Linked DNA regions of Homo sapiens: regions 2, 3, 4 and 5 are each linked to region 1. The links are contacts of gene promoters, found by promoter capture Hi-C in blood cells and fetal thymus (Javierre and others, 2016). All regions are on one chromosome and are shown on one strand. Each heading gives the region's core, a stretch centred on a gene start or on the middle of the fragment in contact. The rest is flanking DNA. Distances are from core to core; before and after follow the strand shown.

The links. The method cuts DNA at HindIII sites, captures the fragments that hold promoters and counts their contacts. A CHiCAGO score of 5 or more calls a contact.
Region 2: a contact is called between the fragment with the promoter of ZFP30 here and the fragment with the promoter of ZFP14 in region 1, in 4 of 17 cell types (naive CD8 T cells, total CD4 T cells, non-activated CD4 T cells and 1 more). The highest score is 7.3, in naive CD8 T cells.
Region 3: a contact is called between the fragment with the promoter of ZNF571-AS1 here and the fragment with the promoter of ZFP14 in region 1, in 5 of 17 cell types (naive CD8 T cells, fetal thymus, total CD4 T cells and 2 more). The highest score is 7.1, in naive CD8 T cells.
Region 4: a contact is called between the fragment with the promoter of ZNF793 here and the fragment with the promoter of ZFP14 in region 1, in 5 of 17 cell types (total CD4 T cells, naive CD8 T cells, activated CD4 T cells and 2 more). The highest score is 14.7, in total CD4 T cells.
Region 5: the fragment with the promoter of ZNF569 here is called in contact with the fragment with the promoter of ZFP14 in region 1 in 2 of 17 cell types (naive CD8 T cells and non-activated CD4 T cells); the score reaches 11.3 in naive CD8 T cells.

Annotation. Positions count from the first base shown.
Region 1 is chr19:36,377,947-36,380,453 of GRCh38, reverse strand. It overlaps ZFP14 (ZFP14 zinc finger protein), which reads left to right and starts at 1,253. Exons shown (of 5, transcript NM_020917.3): 1 at 1,253-1,291. RefSeq lists a silencer at 1,057-1,146. The HindIII fragment of the contact is 12,200 bases long and covers 1-2,507 here.
Region 2 is chr19:37,654,211-37,656,717 of GRCh38, reverse strand. ZFP30 (ZFP30 zinc finger protein) reads left to right here and starts at 1,253. Exons shown (of 6, transcript NM_001320669.3): 1 at 1,253-1,298; 2 at 1,839-2,006. RefSeq lists enhancers at 648-697, 97-1,084 and a silencer at 1,108-1,297. The HindIII fragment of the contact is 13,390 bases long and covers 1-2,507 here.
Region 3 is chr19:37,547,694-37,550,200 of GRCh38, reverse strand. ZNF571-AS1 (ZNF571 antisense RNA 1) reads right to left here and starts at 1,252. Exons shown (of 6, transcript NR_038248.1): 1 at 1,046-1,252. LOC124904708 reads left to right here. Exons shown (of 2, transcript XR_007067248.1): 1 at 1-2,309. The HindIII fragment of the contact is 14,204 bases long and covers 1-2,507 here.
Region 4 is chr19:37,505,686-37,508,192 of GRCh38, reverse strand. ZNF793 (zinc finger protein 793) reads right to left here and starts at 1,254. Exons shown (of 8, transcript NM_001013659.3): 1 at 1,227-1,254. ZNF793-AS1 (ZNF793 antisense RNA 1) reads left to right here and starts at 1,106. Exons shown (of 3, transcript NR_110723.1): 1 at 1,106-1,354; 2 at 2,153-2,347. RefSeq lists enhancers at 1,038-1,187, 753-1,544, 1,545-2,336. The HindIII fragment of the contact is 7,284 bases long and covers 1-2,113 here.
Region 5 is chr19:37,466,190-37,468,696 of GRCh38, reverse strand. ZNF569 (zinc finger protein 569) reads left to right here and starts at 1,253. Exons shown (of 6, transcript NM_152484.3): 1 at 1,253-1,613. It also overlaps a transcript of ZNF570 not described here. RefSeq lists an enhancer at 1,383-1,432. The HindIII fragment of the contact is 12,295 bases long and covers 1-2,507 here.

The sequences.
Region 1 (2,507 bases), core at 4-2,503:
TTAGTAGTTATAAAGTAGCTCAGATTTTTCATTTATCTCCTATTTCATGCATATCCTATTGTTTGCAAAATGAAACCAGATTGCCGAGGCATTTTCAAATATCTTCTAAAGTTTTATATTCTTAAGGAAAGAACAAATTCTTTCATGTATTAACTAATATATCAAAGAATTTGGGATACAGAAGATGCCTCAGGGTGGTCCCTGGTGGGCTTATCCCATTTCTTTCCTGAAGGAACGCAGGACAGGACAAATTCAGTCTCATTGGAGACAGACCTCTCCAGTTAGTCTTTTTCTTTTGAAACGGAGTTTCGCTCTTGTTGCCCAAGCTGGGGTGCAATGGCGGATCTCAGCTCAATGCAACCTCCGCTTCCCGGGTTCAAGCGATTTTCCTGCCTCAGCCTCCTGAGTAGCTGGGATTACAGGCGCGCGCGACCACGCCCGGCTAATTTTTTGTATTTTTAGTAGAACAATACATTCACAACTGCAGGAGATACGAGACACACACACACACACACACACACACACACACACACACACACACAGAGACAGAGACAGAGTGGGAGAAAGGGAGAGGGCAGTGAGCACGAGCGACCTTTCTAGGTTTACGTCCTGCTCCAGGTTCTGGTGGGCTTTGAGAGTATTTTCATTGCATGCCTGATGTGTGCCCACACCTTGCTTGGGTGTATGCAGTGAGTAACTGGTAGGTGTTTAGTACACATATTAGGCATCTGCTGGTGCCAAAACTTCTTTCTAAATCCTCCGCGGCTGAGCCTGGTGGCTCACGCCTGTAGTCCCAGCACTTTGGGAGGCTCAGGCGGGAGGATCTTTTAAGCCCAGGAGTTCGACACCGGCTTGGGTAACATAGGGAGATCTGGTCTCTATAAAAACTTAAAAAATGAGTTGGGCGTGGTGGCGCGCGCCTGCAGTCCCAGCTACTCTGGAGGCTCGGGTGGGAGGGTCGCTTGAGCCCGGGAGGTCGCGGCTGCAGTGAGCTCTAATCACGCCACTGCACTCCAGCCTGGGCGACAGAGTAAGACCCTGTCTCAAGAAAATAAACAAATAAAAGTCTTCCTCAGCGACAAAAGCAAACGCAAGCCCGAGCTCGCCTCAGCCCCACGCAGCGCGGAGGGCCTTCCCGCCCCGAGCGCACCCGGGGCTCCGGCCCCCGCGCATGCGCACTCCGCGCAGCCCGTTGGGGCTGGAACCAGTCCCTCCCATCGGCGGACTACATTTCCCACAGGCCTCCGCTCGCAGTTCTTTCCGGCTTCGCTGCTGGTGTCGGCTCCGAGAGGTGAGTTGGTCGCTTGCACCGAGGCAATGGGCGCGGGGGTGGCGCGGGGGCGGCGCAGACCTCAGTGTGAGCCAGGAGGCAGTAGCTGTGGAGTTTGTGGCGCTGACTGGGCGCCGGGTGCCCTGTTGCGTCCTCTGCCTTCTCGCTTCAGAGCCGCCCAGGTCCAGCGGCCCGGAATGGCTCCGAGTTAGATACAGGAACCCCGGAGTGAATGAAGGCCCCCAAACAAAAAGACGCAGTCTGAAGAACTGCAGATTGCACAGCTTTACCCGAGCTCCCTCCCATGGAAACTGCGGGGAACTCGGAGACAGATCCCAGCCCCGTCTTCGTGTACCTGGCCTTTCGCTCTGATACGGGAAAGGGTCAGCTTTATTCCAGGCTCCCTGTTATTTCCATCGGGTTTTGCGCGCAGTAGACGGAGGGAGCAAGTGCGCTAGCGGGGGTGTGTCCTGCTCAGCCAAGGCCGGCTCCAGGAAAGGCCCGCGGTCTCAAGATTCCCGTCTCCTTTCCCAATCCTGCTGTTCTTTAGGAAGGCAGCGGGGAGAGGAGGAAATGATTGCTGTTGCATATAGACAAGTCAACATCCAGATGAGTTTGTGTTTCCGTTTTGTTCCATGAAGTGTAATTTTTATTTTTTCTGGGCGTGGGGGCATTTGCTTTCCTCTTCTGTGGAATGAAAATCAGCTCGGACTGAACAATGAAGCAGCTCTGTCATTAATCAGGCTAGGAAGGAAGAGACAGATAAAGCCAGTTGCAAAATTAATAGAAAACATGATTTCTCCCCAGGTGGTGCAGTAGTTGTAAAATGGCATAATGACTCCCTCTTTGAGAGATTACAGTTTTCTTACCAGTGATGTTCTAGACTTGCTTTGCTGTTTTCATTTTATTACTGGGGATACCCTCTTGATTACACTCATGATTGCATTCAATATCTCATTAATCCCTGCCTCTCCTAATCTCACCTCGGAAACAGCAGCCATTCCAGATTGCAGCTGTCATTAGATCCTCCTTAGAATCTTTCAGCTGGAACTCAACCGTTTACGAAAGAGCTTTTCTCGTCTCTCTCGTCCATTCTATTCCAACCCTTCCTGTGGAATTTTCTCCCTTTCTGCCAGTCAATAGATATGATTTTGTCAGACTATGCGGGCTTGTTCCAGTTAATCTTCAGCTAGTTAGACTTTAACCCCTGAAATGTCCTGTCCACTGACCTGGTGCT
Region 2 (2,507 bases), core at 4-2,503, 1.3 Mb before region 1:
AGACATTGAATTTATCCAAGAGTTCATCCAGGAACAAAGGGGAAAAAACAAATCTCATTTGTTAGAATATTCCAAGACCAGGTATGGAAGAAAATAAAATGCCTCTCCCTCCCGTTTCATGGTGTCCTATTCAATTTTCTGACACAGTCCTACAATTCCATCATTTGGAAGTAATAGCAACCTTATTCCTTTCCAATTTTTTTTCCTGCAATTATTTTACTTGCCTAACACCACAGTCCTGAGGGCACACAAGGGCCAGATGCAGATAATCAAAATCCCAACACTCAGTTTCATAGGGACCCACAAACCGTCTCCATGGAAAACCAGAACCAGAAGCGCTGCCCTATCAGAAGGATTCTGGAAATAACGCTGGATGAGGCAGAGCCACAGTCACAGATCCGATGTCAGGTACGTCACAAACGCAGACACAAACCGCAAAGACCCCAGAGACCCGCTACAGCCAGCGTCAGAGTCAGGCACCACCGCGCAGCCTTCTCTGCGGCACCATCCTAATCCCCCGCTAGAGAACGGCACACGCGCACGCAGCAGCCCCGTGCACGGAAACACTACTCCGCCAGCGGCCAGGCACTCGGTCCAGGTACGCGGGGGCGCGGCGGCCGTCACTCAGCAAACACCACAGGCAGCACGCGCCGCGCCTTGGTCCAGGCTCGCGATACTGGGGTTTCCTCCATCCAACTCACGCCAGGGTCACGGCTACAGGCCTAGATTTGAACACTCCATCCCCATCGGGATCCTGTAGCCAACCTCCACCCTCCTCCAAACCTCCCGACCCCTCGGCAGGTGCGGCCCCACACTTCTCCCTTGCTCCCTGAAGGGCCCCAGCGTTCGCCCCCCGCGCGCTTGCGCACTCGAGGCAGAAGCCGATTTCCAAAGGTTCCGGTGAGGCGTCGCTGGGGGCGGGGCGGGGCTCGCAGCCTCCGCCTGTCTCCGAGCCGAGAACCAAATGAAAAATAAAAAGGCGGAATATTGTTTTTTTAAATTTTGGACCGCAGTGTCCACAGGGGAGCAGGCCTGGATTATCTTTAATGGCACTGGTCAGTCACGGGGCGGCCATTACAGGTAGAGGCCTGAGGCGAGGGACACTGCGGCCCCTCTGGCTCCGTCTCCCCGGCCCGACTATCCCCGCCGAGACCCGGCCCCACGCGCCCCTCCCGGCCCGGAGCAGCTGCGGGACTTGCCTCCGCCCCCCCGCGCGCTAGCGCATTCGCGACGGAGACAGGCGCTCTCCCGTATTCTGGCGCCGCTGACTCCCAGGGCTGGGCTATCCTCTGAGTCGGGTGAGGCTGGGGCTGGGAGCCGGGCGCCACTGTGGCCGCTGCTTTTCTGAGGGAAAAGAGCGCGGAGTGGGCCAGGTTTTGCAGGCCGGGCCAAGGTGGAGAAAAGGTTCCTGTGGAGCCTCAGGCCGGTGTGCTTTTTTTCCCGGGACTGAGCTTCTGCAGCCCTGAGGCCTGGAGGCCCGGGCGGTAGTAACTGTGCCGGACCAGGTTCGTGGGTGCGGCCTGTGGTGCAGTTGGAGACCGAGGCCCCGCGCATCCTCGTCCGCGCTTCAGCCACTTAGGCTCGGCCGTAGCGAAAAGGCCCAAGAGGGAAGTCAGAGGTGAACGCCCCAGGATGAAGGTCCCCTGCAAAACGCTGGGACCTAGATTTGGGGTGGGTGTCTGGGGTCTAGGAGGACACGCTGGACAGTTCCGAAAAGACACAGTGGGTGGTCCCGGGCGTGGGCAACCGGGTGCGGAACTACAGCGTACCCGGAGCTGCGAACCCAGACGCGGGTGACTGCTGACCCTCTGCCCTGTCGTTTCCATTTGTGCATGCAGGTGGCGGTTAGTTGGGGCCAGGGAAGCGTGGAGGGTGGGTTCCAATCGAGTCAAGAAAAGCCTGGGGTGTCCTGAACTCTGCCTGCTTCCCCAGCCCTGCCAGTTTCCAGAGAAGGCGCTTGAGAAGGAGAAACGAATCGCTGCTGCTCTTCTAAAAGCCGGTTCCCTGTGAGTTCGTGCTGCTGCTTTGTTTCTGTGAAATGCATTCGAGTTCCTTCCGTTTAAAATCCTGCTTAGGAATGATCTATTTATTCATTGATTTGGGCCTTAGGATTTCCCTACCTAGTTAACGGCAGGGGACCTAATTAATAGATTTCCCGTTGTTAGTGCCCACTTCATGCTGTTCTATAGTTAGACACATGGTTAGTTAACTGTAGGCTGCAAATTCAATTACTCTGTGAGCGCTGTTTTTCTAAGGATCTTGATGATATGGAAATACCCGTGCTGGAGATTAATGTTCATACTTTGTTTTTATTTGTTTTTTAGGGTTTAGATATGTTTAATGGTTCTGGGGTAGGAGTGGAGATTTCTTTTTTTCCAGGAAATTCATGAGTGGAAGTTTTTGGTACCAGCCAGATGTGGTTTGAGGTCTGGCAGCATGAGTTTATTTTGGGTATATCTTGGATCGACTGAGGGAGGTGTAGTGTAGTGGTTAAGAATTTCGAGCCT
Region 3 (2,507 bases), core at 3-2,502, 1.2 Mb before region 1:
GAAACACTCATCACCTACGTCCCCGCCAAGGTGGTCCTGGACGAACTGGGAAACATTTGCTGTGAAGGACGTTCTGGAGGACTGTGAGCCAGACCAAGGAAAACCTGGGCCGACGAGAATCAGGGAAGGCAAGAAAAGAGGGAGAACAGAGTAGAGGCCGCAGCCCAGGCAGGATCAATCCATCCCACTCCCATGTGCCTCGGGGAACCAGGGTCCAACAGGGGACCTGGCCAGAAAGGCGACAGTCTTCGGTCCAAAGGTTCTCCGAACACTCGTGTCTTCTATCGCCAGCACAGCGCCATGGTGTGGACAGGTTGTACAGTGAAGAGGAAAAGGGGATGGCGTTGGAAACAGTTTCTTTGACATCTGTCTGCACCTGTTCTGCAGGTGAAGGTGCGAGACCTCCTCCACACCTCAGCGGATTGTATCTTCACCCCCATCTGACCTTTTTTCTGCACACATCCTTTAATCCAGAATGAAATCTGAAGAGGATGAAGGAGTGCCCGCCTCAGGTCCTGAAGCTGCGACTCCGCCAGCCACCGAATTAGAAGTGGGCTCAAGGGGGTACTGAGGACAGGACAGCTAGGGTCCGTCCAGCCTTGGGTGTGCCGCAGGACCATGGGCCCCTGGAGGAATTTGTTCTTGGTTGTCGTGTGCTGGTCTTCTTTCTGGAAGAGTGGGCGGCTTGGGAGGGGAGGTGATTTGGACGTTTGCGGGTCGCAGCCAGCCCCCCACTTCACCGAGGCTTTAGGAACCAAGAGCGAAACAAAGAACGCTTGCCCCGCAACCCAAGCCCGGCCAAAGAGACGGGCGCATCAGAGCGTAGGCGAACTACAGAGAAACCGCGCTTCACTGCACGAGCCACATTTCTTTCACCGCACACCACACACACACTCACACGCACACACAGAAAGACACACGGAAACATCCAACAGTCGCACAGAAACACACACAGCCAGGCAGCTCCTGAGGCTGCGCGGTTCTGCTCTCTGCCAGGAAACCCCTCCGGAAAGAGAGCGCCCCGGGGAACACAGGCAGGCCGTACCTCGAAATCCCAGCGGGGACACCTGTCAGGGAGACGCACCCTCACACCGCCCATGCATGCCCGACGCATCTTTGGGATCCTTAGGGATCACGTGGTGCTTCCTTGAATCTCCGCTTGAGGTTTCTTCAGGCAGGTTCGGCCTTGCCCGACTCCTAGGATCGCAGGACCATGGCGACGATCCCGCGGAGAGGGGACGCACTGCCACAGACGCCTGGGGGCCAAGCCGCTGGGGCCAGTCCCCCGGCAACGGTGGCGGTTACTGTGACGCGAGTCCCCCCTCAGCGCTAGCGCCTGGTGATCGCGCCTGGTACGTGCACTTTCGCGTTCCCGGTTTGTGGGCCGCATTGTCAGGGCTCTCAGGCTGCAGCCCAATAGGAAAACAGTGGAGGCCGTGCAGGCGGCGGTTCGGGGAAGGAGACTGCATGCGACAAGCAGCGCAGGACCCTGACTGTCGTGACCTCAGTGCCTCCTTGAGCCGACCTCGTGTTTGGGTCCGGGTGTAGGAGGAGGTGCTTCAGACCGTGAGGTGGGCACTCGGGATTGCTCTTCTGATTTGATTCTGGACTGGAATCAAATTGGAATTGACCCGGAATTGGGTCCCACGGGGCTGGGGAACCAATCTGGTGAGGTGTGGAGGGGTCGCTGGTGCACAGAAACATACCGGATACCCTCGGGGTGGGTGTCAGCAGAACATTCCTCGGCTCCATGAGCTGACTGCCTCCCTTTGATCTGGGCCTCCCAGGGCTCTTCCTGCGTCTCCAAGCTCAGGGGCTCCTGCTTCTCAGCACTGCTGTCTGGAAAAGGCGGGAACGAGGACTAAGGCAAGCCCAGTGTGGGGCAGAGATGGCAACACCTGGAACTAGCTTTTCATGGGGGCAGATAATGTGGAGAGTGTCCCAATTACATCTCCCTTTATTCTATCCCATACTACTAAACCCCACCAGCTATTTGCCTACAAACTGTGTATCAGTCAGGACATCAGGACACCAAGATAAAGGACTAGAGTTTGGTAATCAACTACTGGCTCCTCCAGCAGCTCAGAATGTGGCCTGTATGCATCACTTCACTTAATTCATTCAAGAAATGCTGACTGAGTTCCTGCTGTGTGTTGGACACTTTCTTAGAAGTGGGACACACTGCAGTGTGTGGGACAAAGGCTGGGCCGCTCATTGCTTATGTTCTAGTTGAAGAGAGAGTCAATCAACAACATTCTACTTTCAGACATTGATAAATGCTGTCATGAAAAGACAAGGAACATGAAAAGGTAAGAAAAGGGATGGAGAGAGATGGGATGAGGGGTGCCTGGGCAGACAATGCAATGATCTGGCAAAAGAGTAGGACAATCATGAGACTGCATGTGTTCCAGTTTCTGCTGCTGTAAAACAGCATCCACAGGTTACATCTTTACTATTCTGTTACATACATACTATTATTTAAATAAAAAATAGTACTAGTTAACTGT
Region 4 (2,507 bases), core at 5-2,504, 1.1 Mb before region 1:
GTTACTTTAGATAAGTTTAGCACGCGATCCTTTCAAATTATTTTCATTATTGTAGAGAACAATAAAAAGGGTGTGGGTTCAAAAAAGAGTTTTCAGATGGGCCTTGGTGGAGAGGAACTGGCTGCTATTCAGCTAGGGAGTGTCACCTGAGTGAAATGTGTTCCCGCTATGCAGGCTTGCAGCCTCAAATCTGTGATTTTCCCATCCCCAATCTCCACATTTCAGGACCCTCAACACCAACCCCTATAAGTCTCCTAATCAGACACGCATAGTGCCCCCAATCACTGGCCTCCAATCTCCAACCCTCAGAGGTTTTCATAGTCACTGATATTCCCCTATGTTCAAATCTGACCAGGAGAGACTACAGGTCAGTAACTACAAAGAACACCGATCCGATCTGATTGCCAGTGAAATTACACAGCCCCCAATCATGAATCCACACTGATTGCCAATGATATCCCAACGACTGAGGATCAATTGTTGATTCTCACAGTCCCACTCCCACCCACAAGTGACAGTCCGAATCACTGAGCCTCATTGAGGCGTACCTTTAAGATAAGCACACTTGACTCTATTCTCCATTCCCTGATCTACAAAAGTCCAATCGTTAATACTCTCCGATCCTCCACCGATGATATGAAGTAAGTCTCAATCACCGATGGCCCAAAACATTTCTCCAAACATTCATCACCACTGACCTCCCTCATTTGAACCCCAAAGTTTCCACAATCACCAATTCCAGTACCCAAACTATTACTGCCCACAGAACTTAGAACCTCCGATCACTGATCCTCTCGGGCTCCGATCATTAACCTTAAAGATCTCTAAACCAGTGTCTGAAAAATCCCAACTGACCCCAGACCCATGAAGACCACTATTACTGACCCCATGCACCCTGAAAATCAAGACATTTCACAGAACTCGCATTTATTGATTCCCACACACTCCCAATCCATCTTCTTCAGAGACCGTGCCACTGACTCCCGCAAACCTCTGTCCGCCACCACTGAGGCCCCGCGAGGCTCAGACGCCGAATCTCTTAACCCTTCAGTTCCCTTGTCATTGACCCTCACGGGCACCCATAGCTGACCCAGTCGGCCACCGTAGTCGGCAGCTCACTATCCTCCACTAGTCCCAGGTTTGACCGTTTCTCAAACCGTGCCTTCCCATTTATGCTGCATCCGCGCCCTGAATCTGAAATTGGTCGTCCTGCCACGCCGCCTCACCGCGGTATAAGGTCGTCCCATCCTGAATGGCCGGTGCGCAGACTCAATTGCGACTTTGAGGCTGTCAGCCGCCACCCGGCAACCTTCCAGTGAACAGGATTCTGGGTTTCTCAAAGCTGTAATTGGAGGTATGATGGCGACGCCCACTTGACTCCTACCTGGGGCGGCCATGTTTAAAACTGTGCCGTAAAACGGATGATTAAGCCCTTTGCTAGACCAAAAGATAAGGCTATTTTAGGACAAGGAGAAGGAAGTGTCCCTGGATCCCTAAACAGAGATGTCGTCTCTGCTCTTAACTCAGCATCTCAGATGCCAAAACCTCCTGTGGCCAACATGGTGGCGCCCAGACATCAAAGCTGAGCTTTCTTTGTCTCCGGCAGCCTGGTAAGATGGCCGCGTACATTTTTACCGCTTCTTACGTGCAATGGGTGCAGCCTCTCCTAGGAGCTCCCCTATGGCAATGTGAAACTCTTTCTGAGCCAGCTCTAGGAGTTAGAGAGCAGCGAAGAGACTCGCTCTTAGGGAGACAGAGACAGCCTAAGGACGGGCGTGACTTCACGGAAAGGGCGGAGCCGCAAGGAAAGGGCGGGGCTGCCGCAGCGGGAAGAGATCAGAGTTCTTAGCGCATAATGGAAAGGAAATGTTGAAAGCAAGGTTTTTACCTAAGGAGGCTTGCCCGAGAAGCCGACCTGAGGAAAGAATGAGTGCAAGCAGTTTATTTGGTAGGTGGGGGATGGAGAAGTGAGACGGGAGCGATGGGAACGAATATACAGTGCATAGGTGAGCAGATTAGCTCTGGATCAATGAGGGCTCAGTCAGCTTGGGACCTCTGGGGGATTGTGTAGAAACCACTTCCAAGTTTTCACAACCACCAGGCCGATGAAGCTTACATATGTCTACACCATCTCTCTTCCTAATTGTTTTAGGGCCACTCCAGAGGTGTTAAAGCTCCAGCACTTCGAGCCTGCCTCGTGGGAAAGTCTTAGGCTGAGTCTGTAGGTGTCTGCAGTTAAGAAGCCAGCGGTCTGCATATGATTGCTCAGGGGTGGTGGCTGGGTCCAACAGCATTCACTACAGGCCTGCCTTGAATACCACCTAGCGCAGTGCTCCGCATATCACAGGTATTGGAACATCTCTAGAAAAGATTGCCTTGTCTTATGAAAATGGCTTTTTAAAAAAATCCTAATTCCAACTGGTCATCCTAGCAACTGATACAATAACTGACCTCAAAATGTTTCCCAATGATTCCTACCTCCTACTATTCACACTCTTATGTAGTTC
Region 5 (2,507 bases), core at 4-2,503, 1.1 Mb before region 1:
GTCTCTACTAAAAATACAAAAAAATTAGCCGGGCGTGGTGGCACGCGCCTTAAGTCCCAGCTACTCAGGAGGCTGAGGCAGAAAAATTGCCTGAACCTGGGAGGCGAAAGGAGGCGGAGGTTGCAGTGAGCCGAGATCGCGCCACTGCACTCCAGCCTGAGCGACAGAGCAAGACTCCGTCTTAAAAAACAAACAAACAAAAACCTCGTGACCTCAAATGATCCGTGCGCTTTGCCCACCCAAAGTGCTGGGATCACAGGCGTGAGCCACCGCGTCCGGCCTATTATCTCTTTATTAAAGGTATTAAGACCGGCCCCGTGCGGCTCATGCCTGTAATCCTAGCACTTTTTGAGGCCCAGGCGGGAGGATCGCTTGAGCTCAGGAGTTCGAGAGCAGCCTGGGCAACATAGCGAGACCTTATCTCTACTAACAAACAAACAAAAATCAGCCGGGCGGAGTGTCCCTTGATTGTGGTCCCAGTTACTCGGAAGGCCGAGGCAGAGAATCGCTTGAGCCCGGGAGTTCGAGGCTGCAGTGAGCCAACATCGCGCCGCTGCACTCTCCAGCCTGGGCAACAAAGTGAGGCTCTGCCTCAAAAAAAACAAAACAAACAAAAAAAAAAAAACACGAAAGGCATAGAGAAGTTAAGTACCTAGTCTGAGATGACACAGCTAGTAAGGCCAAGTCTGTTTAGAAGTCAGGCGGTCTGGCCACACTACTTTTCGCTCACGATCCCGGGTCATGAAATCCAATAACACTGTCACACTCACAATCGAGAAGTCCAGAAAGAACAAATACATGCACATTGTCTCTGACAAAACTGCAAGGTCAGAATCAAACAGCCACGAGAATATAAAACGCGACCATGGTCACACAAAAGGTCGCATATTCGCACGACCTCAGATGTCACTGGACAGGGTCTCTCGCCCTGGAAACCCCACTCCAAATTCCATGGCCGAAGTTTCACACATACAGTCACACTACGTCACTCCTCCCTCTTCTAGCCGCTGTCAGGACCTTAAGGCTCCAGCTGACCCGGCCTTCACTGGCCCTGGAGCTCTCACCACCTTCACCCCGCTGTATTCTAGCCTCAGGTAGAGACCCAAAAAGACGGAACTAAACACACTGAGCCGGGCTTCCTTCACGGACCTTGCGAACCTGCAGCTCCAGCCGACTGTAAGAAGGAAGTGCCTTTTTGCAGGTGGGGTCGGGGAAGTAGGGCCGCGAAGGCCTCTGGGAAATGTAGTTCGGCGCAGGAAGCAGCGGAACGATTCGATTCTTCTCAGCACCAAGTTGCGCTCCCAATCTCTCAGAGCTGGGCTCGCGGGAGGCCGCTCGTGCAAAACCTAGGCTGAGCTCCCCTGCGCGGAGCTGTGAGCCCTGGAACACCGTGGTCTGCTTCTCAGGACGCGCAAACAGTGAAGCCAGTCCCGCCCGGGTGAGCCGCGGGGGCCTCTGGGAAGCGTCGCCCCTGGTGTAACGGACCGAGACTTGTGGCGCTCTCAGCCACCGACAGCGCCGGCCTCAGTGCCGCCTCTGTCCCAGCCCGCGCCGGCTCTGCCACTTTGGCAGCGTTAAGTGTGGAATCGGGGCCTGTGTCCGCGGGCTTGGTGGTGAGTCCTCGGGAAACCGCTAGCTCTGAGCGCCGGACTCTTTGTGCTGGGTGGGAGTGGGGGCCCGCGGTCCTGGTGCCCCAATCTTTGGAGGAGGACGCCGGGCGGGGCGATGCCTGTGCTTGTGGTTCCCTGAGGCAGTGGGAGTGGCGTGTGAAGGACTGTGAGAGTCTGGCGTGAAGTGACTGTCATTTGCCAGACATTCGTCTGGCTGAGTGTGGCCCCGGGATCGTGTCCGTAAGCGGATTTCGTGGAGGCGCTTTCCCTTTTATCTTTCAGTATGAACCTGCGTGCAAACGTGCATGACAGTGGGATCTTGAATGAATGAAAAACTGTGGATACAAGGTAGGGTGTGCTTGTGGGTGTAGATGTGTGAGACTTGGCGTTTGTGCCAGCGCTGCATGTCTTTAGCTTTGGTCATTGGAAATACGTTGTTTTTTTGTTTTTGTTTTTGAGATGGAGTTTCGCTCTCGTTGCCCAGGCTGCTGGAGGGCAATGGCGCGATCTTGGCTCACCGCAACCTCCGCCTCCTGGGAAGAAGCAATTCTCCTCCCTCAGCCTCCCGAGTAGCTGGGATTACAGGCGCACCACCACGCCTGGCTAATTTTGTATTTTTAGTAGAGACGGGGTTTCTCCATGTGGGTCAGGCTGGTCTCGAACAACTGACCGCAGGTGATCCACCCGCCTCGTTCTCCCAAAGTGCTGAGATTACAGTCGTAAGCCACCGCGCCCGGCCGGAAATATGTTTTTATATGAAACATCGATATCCCCAACACTTTAATATTTATTTATTTTTAATTTTATTTTCGTGTATTAGCTACGTTGTTTTGTGTACTTACTAAACTCATTCTCCTCCTTCCCTACTCCACCCCATTTGGGGAGTGGAGTGGGGTG